Regions from separate parts of the Homo sapiens genome. Here region 1 is linked to region 2. The links are contacts of gene promoters, found by promoter capture Hi-C in human tissues and cell types (Jung and others, 2019). All regions are on one chromosome and are shown on one strand. The core of a region is centred on a gene start or on the middle of the fragment in contact, and the rest is flanking DNA. Distances in the headings are between cores, read along the strand shown.

Region 1 (4,493 bases), core at 1,430-3,929, 170 kb after region 2:
ACTGCACTGAGTAAATTCCAGGGTGGGGACCACAGGACCAGATGACCCAGTTTATCAATCTGGGTGGCACTAGCTGATCCATCGAGTGCTGGGTCTGAAAAATATCTCGAGCACCAATCTTAGGTTTTACAATAGTGATGTTATCCCCAGTAGCAATTGGGAAGGTTTAAAATCTTGTGACCCCTGGCCCCTGGCTGCATGACTCCTAAACCATACTCTCTAATCTTGTGGCTTTTGTTAATCCTACAAAGGCAGTCTGGTCCCCAGACAAGAAGAGGGTTTGTTTCAGGAAAGGGCTGGGTTTTTTTGTTTGTTTTTGTTTTTGAGATGGAGTCTCGCTCTGTTGCCCGGGCTGGAGGCGATCTCAGCTCACTGCAAGCTCTACCTCCCGGGGTTCATGCCATTCTCCTGCCTCAGCCTCCTGAGTAGCTGGGACTACAGGTGCCCGCCACCACACCTGGCTAATTTTTTGTATTTTTAGTAGAGACAGGGTTTCACCATGTTAGCCAGAATGGTCTCGATCTCCTGAACTCGTGATCCGCCTGCCTCGGCCTGCCAAAGTGCTGGGATTACAGGGGTGAACCACCATGCCCGGCCTAGAGGGAAAGGGCTGTTATCTTTGCTTCAAAGTTAAACTGTAAACTGAGTTTCTCCCAAAGTTAGTTAGGCCTATGCTCAGGAACGAACAAGGACAGCTTGGAGGTTAGAAGCAAGATGGAGTTGGTTAGGTCAGATCTCTCACTGTCATAATTTTCTCAGTTATAATTTTTACAAAGGTGGTTTCACCATATGACATGTAGTATCGGGGGAACCCACCCCCGATAATTCAATGTGGGTTCTTTTCTATTTTCCCTAAGTGTCGGCTGGTCTGAGAAATAAAGGGAAAGAGTACAAAAGAGATAAATTTTAAAGCTGGGTGTCTGGGGGAGACATCACATGTCAGCAGGTTCCGTGATGCCCCCGAGCCATAAAACCAGCAAGTTTTTATTGGCAATTTTCAAAGGGGAGGGAGTGTACGAATAGGGTGTGGGTCACAGAGATCACATGCTTTAAGGGCAACAAAAGATCACAAGGCAGAAGGTCAGGGCGAGATCACAAGGTCAGGGCAAAACTAGAATCACTCATGAGCTTCCATGTCCTGCTGTGCACGCATTGTCATTTATAAACATCTTAACAGGGTTCAAGAGCAGAGAACTGGTCTGACTAGAGTTCGCCAGGCTGGAATTTCCTAATCCTAGCAAGCCTGGGGGCGCTGCAGGAGACTAGGGTGTGTTTCATCCCTATCTACATGTGCATAAGGCAGACACTCCCAGGGCAGCCATTTTAGAGGCACTGCCCTGGGAATGCATTATTTTCCCAGGGCTGTTAATTATTAATATTCCTTACTGGGGAAAGAATTCAGCGATATTTCTCTTACCCGTTTTTGGTAATAGGAGAAATATGGCTCTGTCCTGCCCGTCCCACAGGCAGCCAGACTTTAAGGTTATCTCCCTTGTTCCCTGAAAATCGCTGTTATCCTGTTCTTAAGGTGCCCAGATTTCATATTGTTCAAACACACATGCCCTACAAACAATCTGTGCAGTTAACGCAATCATCACAGGGTCCTGAGATGACATACATCCTCAGCTTACGAAGATGACAGGATTAAGAGATTAAAGTAAAGTCAGGCATAGGAAATCACAAGAGTATTGATTGGGGAAGCGATACATGTCCATGAAATCTTCACAATTTATGTTCAGAGATTGCAGTAAAGACAGGCATAAGAAATTATAAAAGTATTAATTTGGGGAACTAATAAATGTCCATGAAATCTTCACAATTAATGTTCTTCTGTCACGGCTTCAGCAGGTCCCTCCGTTCGGGGTCCCTGACTTCCTGCAACAATGTAGTGTTATTTTTCCCATTTTATTTACTGGATTTCAATGAGAGTCCCTGCTGTAAAGTTGGAGCCAGCATTGGAGTCCCCAGAGGGCTTGTTAAAACAGAGAAGGAGGCCTGGCACCATGGCTCACTCCTGCAATTCCCAACACTTTGGGAGGCCGAGGTGAGAGGATCACTTGAGCTCAGGAGTTTGAGACCAGCCTAGGCATCACAGGGAGATCCAGTCTCTACAAAAAATTTTAAAATTAGCTGTGTATGATGGTGCACGCCTGTATCCCATCTACCTGGTAGGCTGAGGCAGGAGGATAGCTTGAGCCCGAGATGGAGGCTGCAGTGAGCTATGATCAGGCCACTGCACTCCAGCCTGGACAACAGAACGAGACCCATCCCCCCCGCCCCCCCCGCAAAAAGTAGAGAAGGCTGAATCCCATCCCCAGAATTTCTGAGTCCTTAGATTTAAGTTGTTGCCCCAGAACCTGCATTTTCAGCCAGTCCCCAGGTGATGCTGATGTTGCTGGTTTGAGAAGCCCTGAATCAGAGCGACATTTAATATTACAACGCAAAGACCCCGCCCATTGGGTACTATCCCCATTTTCCAGTGTGAATTTAGGTCCCTTAGGGGTGAAGCGGCTGGCCGATGCCCACACGCGCAGGAAGAGCACTGGGGCTCTCCTCCTGGACCTCGGAGGGTGGGCGGGGTTTAGCGCGGGCGGCTGCAGGCTCGGGAGCGGCCCCTTTAAGGGGAAGGCCCGAGGGCTGCAGGCGGCGGCGGTGGAGACCCGACGAGATCCGCTCTCCTTCCCGCCCTGGACCCTCAGCCTGACGAGAGGCTGGGCAGAAACTCGCGATCCCCAGGCCCTGCCTGTGCACCAGCGGCTGGCGCCAGGCCAATGACAGTACGGGAGAGGGCAACTCTCCCGGCCGCCACGGTGGGGGCCGGAACTTCCTGCACTGCAGCCTCGCAGGTCATTTCCCGGCGGGGAGGCTGAGTCCCCAGGAGCTGGGGACCCCGAGTTGGGGGCGGGGCGGCTGGGGCTACGCCCGTGAAGCTGCCCCGCCGGCTTTCCCGGACCGCGAGGGGGACAGTGAGGCCGGGACCCCCTCCGCGCCTTTGCACCAGCCGTGACCCCTTGCAACGGGGGTACCCAGCGGAGCTGCGCGCTCTCGGCGCCCCCGGAGCCTGCGCCCCGGGCCCCTTGCGCATTTTGCACGGGGGAGACTGAGGCTAGGAGTGCGACCCTCAGCCCGGGGTCACACCTCGTCTGGGGCACGGCCAGGTGGGTGGTAGCCTCAGCCTGCGAGACCCCCTACCCCCGCCCCGTGGTTTCCCGCACCGTGGGGCCCTGCTCTGACCACAGACTCCGATGGCAGCGGCGGCGCTGCGGGACCCCGCGCAGGTGAGTGCTTGGACGTTAGGCCCTTCGCTGTCGGCCCCCCACGCTTCTGTTCTCGGTGTTGAGACGCAAAAGATGGCTTTGTTCTAGGACTTTTCGCCTTTCCCATTTCCTTGCTTTTGAGTCAGGGGACCCTGGAAGGGAGTTGCTCCCAGCTAGGATCCTGAATCAGGGCAGGGTTTATATAAAGTGGCTTCCGTTGCTGAAATGTAATGGGATGGAGGGAGAAAGGGCTTTGTAGGCACAGGAACCAGCGTGCGCAAAAGCTTGGGGGTGGGGTGGGGCACGGTGTGGAGACTGAGTTGGGAGTGTTCAAGGAACCCCACCCAGGTCAGTGTTATTAATATTATGTCTGCTGGAACCAGAGAGCAGGTGGGCTGAAGACAGCTCAGAACGGCAGAGCTGGGCCTCTGTTCTGAGGGTGTTGGGAGCCATGGAAGGTTTAGGGCAGAGGAGGAAGATGCTGTGACTCAGGTCTTAACAGGCTCCCTGTGGATGCACAGTGGAGAACTGAATATGGAGTGAGCCGCAAGCAGGGATGCCAAGGAGTAGCCTAATGGAATAGCCCAGGCCAGTGCTGCGGCTGGCCGGACCAGAGTGAGGACTGGAGGTAGAGGAAGTGATTGGGAACTTGATGTCTTTTAAGTCAAGCTGACCAAATTTTCCGATGTGGAGGGTGAGAAAGAGGAGGGAAGAATCCATGGTTTTTGGTTTGATGAATCCAGCTTTATGAACTGAGAAGTTGGTTTTAGGAGGAATTTTCCATGGAAGCAGTAGAAGTTAGGTTTTGGCCAAGTTGAGCCTGTGATGTCCCAGAGACCCCCAAATGGAGTTGAAGAGTGGGCCGCTGAACACACAGTTCGGGTGTTCTGAGGGAGTTGTTAAGGTAATGAGAGACTGGATATTCATTCGAACAATGGCCAGATCATGTATACAAATAGAACTCTGCCCCAGAACCTGCCCAGGAAACCAACCCCCTTATCTACAATAAACAACCCATACAGCAGGAAGCCAGCCTGCTGTCTGTCAGACCCACAGGAAGCCAGATTGCTATCTGGACTGACAATCCAGGAAGTAAAAACAATAACTTCTGTAATGAGCAGTCCCAAATGGCCAGGGTTTGATTAATAACAGACAGCTTTCCTCATTTTTGCTCCTGCTTCTGATTTAAGAACAACCAGAGAAAGGCAGATACGCACCCTAACCAATCACATAGGA
Region 2 (4,229 bases), core at 448-2,947:
GCTCTGCCTTGCTGGGCTTAGAGTCTGAGGGTGTCTGGGCAGGCTGCCCACACTCTCTGGGTCCCAGCTGCCCCCTCTGCACTGTCCCAGATGGGGCAGGTGGCACCTAACTGCCCCAGCTCCCTGACTCACGGCAGGCTGTCTGTGACCCAGTTATCCCATCGGGGATTCAGCCCCATCCCACCCCATCTTTGCCTGATCTGGGGCTTCCTCTCCCCTCCCCCAAATACCAGCCTGTGACTGGACCCCACGTGGAGACCCCCAAACTTCTTGGTACCCCAGCCGACTTAGTCTAGGTTGGGGTCTCCAACTTGGTTCTTCGGTCCCCACCGCCACCCCTGGGGCTGAGGTGGGTAGCGGGCAGCCTCCCCTGCACTCACCTGCCTTGGCCATGGTGAGGAGACCCACACAGAAAACCAAGATGTGGCCAAGAGACGCCATTGTCCTGGGGGGGACACCACGGATTAGGCAGTGTGTGCCCTTGCTCTCCCACATAGGGCTTGAACCCAAGGGATTAAGTCAGAGACAGTCTGGGGACTGAATCACAGAAGTGTTTGTCCTCTATCTTGGTGGCTCCAAGCTAGAGAAACGGGTATCCCCAGCTTCGTGGGGACACAGTGTCACCAAAACAACCTCCACGATGGGATCACACAACAACACAACGTAGCAGGGACGGGGGTGAGACACACAGTCCCCGGGGGGCCTCCCTTGGGCCTCCACCTCCCGCAGCAGGCCCCCGATTCCCAGACCTACCCTGGCAGGGCAGAGGAGGCGCTGCCTCACACAAACACAGAGCAGGAGACAGCAGGGCACGCCCAAGTCCCACCTGCCTACATGCCCGGCCTCACTGTGCCCCGCGAAATCCCAGCTCCCTGCCCTCTCCGCCCGCCCGCTCGCGGCCTGACCCCGGGTATAAATATCTCCCACTTCACCCTGGAGGAATTCTGCTCGCTCAGGCCACCATGGCAACAGCCTGCCTTCCCCCACTCAGGGGGTCACGCACAGCCCTGCCGGGGTGAGGCCCAGCTGCCACATCGCCACAGGCTGCCCCTGTGGGAAAGGTCACCCCGTCTCCTCCCTGGGCAGCAACGAGAAAAGGAAAAGACAGCCCCTCTGCCCGCCTCTGGGTGACATCTTTCACAATCGGATGTCAGGCAAGTGACATGAGGCCCAGCCCAGTGGGCCTTAGAGATAGAAAACACATGCTGGGGCAGGGATACACACACACACACACACACACACACACACACACACACACAGTGGGGCCGGAATGGACATGAACAACAACCTCTCCCCAAACTGCTGGTTGGAGCAGGACGTGGGGTGTAAACACCGTCAGGCATCCAATACTCCTCCTCTGGGCCTCCGGTGCCCCCACGCAGTGACGCAACCAGCCCTACACACGTGTGTGTCCCAACTCCACACCCTGCCAGGGTGCACACGCACCAGCAGGGCAGGGAGGAGTCACCCACATCCCACCCTGCAGAACCCACTGCCTCAACCACACTCCCTCCCTCTTGGGTTGGCCTGCCTGGGAAGCCTCGGGCTGGCCACTCCTGCTCCCAAAATAGGCGGCCCAGCCAGACCAGGGGTGAGGCCTGGAGGGAAGGAGTGGGGGACGCTCACCCCAATCGGGCTGTCCCCTGCTGAAAGAAGGCCCCCAAACGTCCTGCTGTGCCCCGGGGGCTGAGCACTTTGGACCCCCTGGCCCAGAGCTGGACGCGCCGCCCCCAGCAGCCTCCCCTCCCAGCCCCACCCCACCCATGCCCTCCCCAACCAGCAGCTGAAACTGGAGCTGGGGCTGGAGGGGGGCCAGGGGGCGGCCCCCAGCCCAGACTGCCCTGGCCCGCTTGGTTAACTCTCTCAGTTCAGAGAGAGCAGCAGCAGGCAGCCAGCAGGCAGGCTGGAGAGGCTAGGAGGATTGTGGAGGACAGGGTTGTGAACACACACACACACAAACACACACGCCTCCAAGAGCTTTTGGGCTGAGGCGGCTGCCCCCTGGGAACTGGGTCCAGCCAGGGCCGAAGGTCACCCAGCCTGACTGCCCAGGAGCCCACTGACCCCCGATCCCAGTGCTCCGTGAGGTCCTTAACAGGGCTGTTTTAGAGGACGGGAGGGAGGTGTGTGTGTGTGTGTGTGTGTGCGCGCGCATGTGCGCTATCTGCTGTGGTGAGATCCCCAGAAATGCACCACACACACACACCCACACACAATCCCAAAGACCCAGATATACAGGTACAAAACCAGACAAAACCATGTATGTATGTACATCCATAGAAGCAGACACACACAGAATGACACACTGATAGAGAAACCCAAAGACCCGGACACACAGCCAACACCTTTTATGCCAGTCACAAAATACCAGAACAAGCACATTTATGTCTACACAGACCCACGCACGCTCATGTAGATGGATGGCCACACAGAGATACAGTCAAAGACATAGCCACATCACCATCTACACTCACAAACTGGCCACAAAAATGCATGTTTATGTGAAGACCCACCCACAAATGGCCATACAGAAACACACAAGTATGTGCACACCGCACATAAATGCATTCTAAGATGCATGGCCAAACATGGCCAGGTACGGTGGCTCACACCTGTACTCCCAGCACTTTGGGAGGCCAAGGCGGGAGGATCACTTGAGGCCAGGAGTTCAACACCAGCCTGGCCAACCCGACGAGAGCTCGTCTCTACTAAAAAAATATACAAAAATTAGCTGGGTGTGGTGGCGTGCGCCTGTAATCACGGCTACTCCGGAGGCTGAGGCAGGAGAGTCACTTGAGCCCGGGAGGCAGAGCTTGCAGTGAGCTGAGATCATGCCACTGCACTCTAGCCTGGGCAACAGAGCGAGACTCTGTCTCAAAAACAAAAACAAAACAAAAAAACCCCAAAGGTACAGACATGCAGCCAGCACTCCTACATGGTCCCAAAGATAGGAAGGCCAACAAGCTTGTGTACACACAGACAGATTTCCATGGGCACAGATACACAAGCAGAAACACCATCAAGGACAACCCGCCGCTCTCACACATACCCACAAAAGCAGAAACACACACACTGGTTCACACCCTATGCTTGAGCAAACAGGCACATGGTTGGCCACGGTGACAGATGCGCAGGCTGACACACTTGCATGTTCACACATTCCAAAACCACAGATATGTATTTAACCCCACACTTTCCTTCCCCTGAGCTCTTGTCGGGGACAACACACCTGGCGTCCCCATGGGCAGGCCAGGTTTACAGGTCCTGGTGACAGGGAAACCTGGAATGGCCCAGGCACTGCACTCCTGGTTGTGTGAACTTGAGCAGCTCTGTGCCTCATTTTCACATGCTCCAAAATGGAAAAATCACTAAGATCACGTGTATAATCCTGGACAGGGCTCAGAGGTCTCTGAACTTGACATTGTCTTATGATTAACTTCATTTTTTGTTTGTTTGTTTGAGACCGGGTCTTGCTCTGTCACCCAGGCTGAAGTGCAATGGCACAATCATAGCTCACTGTAGCCTCAACCTCATGGGCTCAAGTGATTCTCCCACCTCAGCTTCCTGAGTAGCTGGGACTATGGGCGTGCGACACCATGCCTGGCTAATTTTTTAATTTTTTGTACAGTCGGGGTTTCTCTATGTTGCCCAGGCTTGTCTTGAACTCCTGGCCCCAAGCGATCCTCCCACTTCAGCCTGCCAAAATGTGGGATTACAGAAATGAGCCACCGTGCCTGGCCTATTATTATTGTCCTTGTCATCCTCCTCCTTGTGAACTGGACTGCTGGGCTGGGCACCCTATGAGAGTGGGTTCAGATCCCTCTGTGCCCCTGGCACTCAGCTCTCCAACTTCACTTTCAGGGACCCTGTTTATCATACCCAATAGTCAGTGAAGGAAACTGAGAGCTGACGGGCATGGCTCAAACCACAAGCTGCTGGGGTCTGCTCCTCTAGGAGCTGGATCCGGAGCCCACCCCCAAGCTTGCCGACCACTGTGGGATGCCCACCTTGTGCTGAACCCCAAAAGGATGAGTTGCCTCCATCACCTGAGTCCTCTCCACAACTGGGAAGCGGGTGCCACGATTGTCCCCGTTTGACAGATGGGAAAACTGAGGCCACACAGGACTGGGCCTGGAACCCAGATCTGCATGACCTCCAAGCTGTTAAGCCCCCTTATCCTCCAACGAGGCTTCTGGGCGTGGGCGTCAGTGTCAAGAGAGGCTGCATGC

Evidence for each region. Contacts are between HindIII fragments. The study calls those that stand out against the background at their distance.
Region 1: a contact is called between the fragment with the promoter of ZNF792 here and the fragment with the promoter of FXYD1 in region 2, in 1 of the 25 tissues and cell types used here (adrenal gland).

What each region holds. Positions count from the first base shown.
Region 1 is chr19:34,962,415-34,966,907 of GRCh38, reverse strand. ZNF792 (zinc finger protein 792) reads left to right here and starts at 2,679. Exons shown (of 4, transcript NM_175872.5): 1 at 2,679-3,278. The coding sequence starts at 3,246. It overlaps LOC124904699 (a long non-coding RNA gene), which reads right to left and starts at 3,482. Exons shown (of 2, transcript XR_007067236.1): 1 at 3,235-3,482. RefSeq lists silencers at 2,918-3,177, 3,288-3,337. The HindIII fragment of the contact is 10,198 bases long and covers 1-4,493 here.
Region 2 is chr19:35,136,292-35,140,520 of GRCh38, reverse strand. FXYD1 (FXYD domain containing ion transport regulator 1) reads right to left here and starts at 1,697. Exons shown (of 8, transcript NM_021902.4): 1 at 1,627-1,697; 2 at 381-445. The coding sequence starts at 441. The HindIII fragment of the contact is 30,870 bases long and covers 1-3,473 here.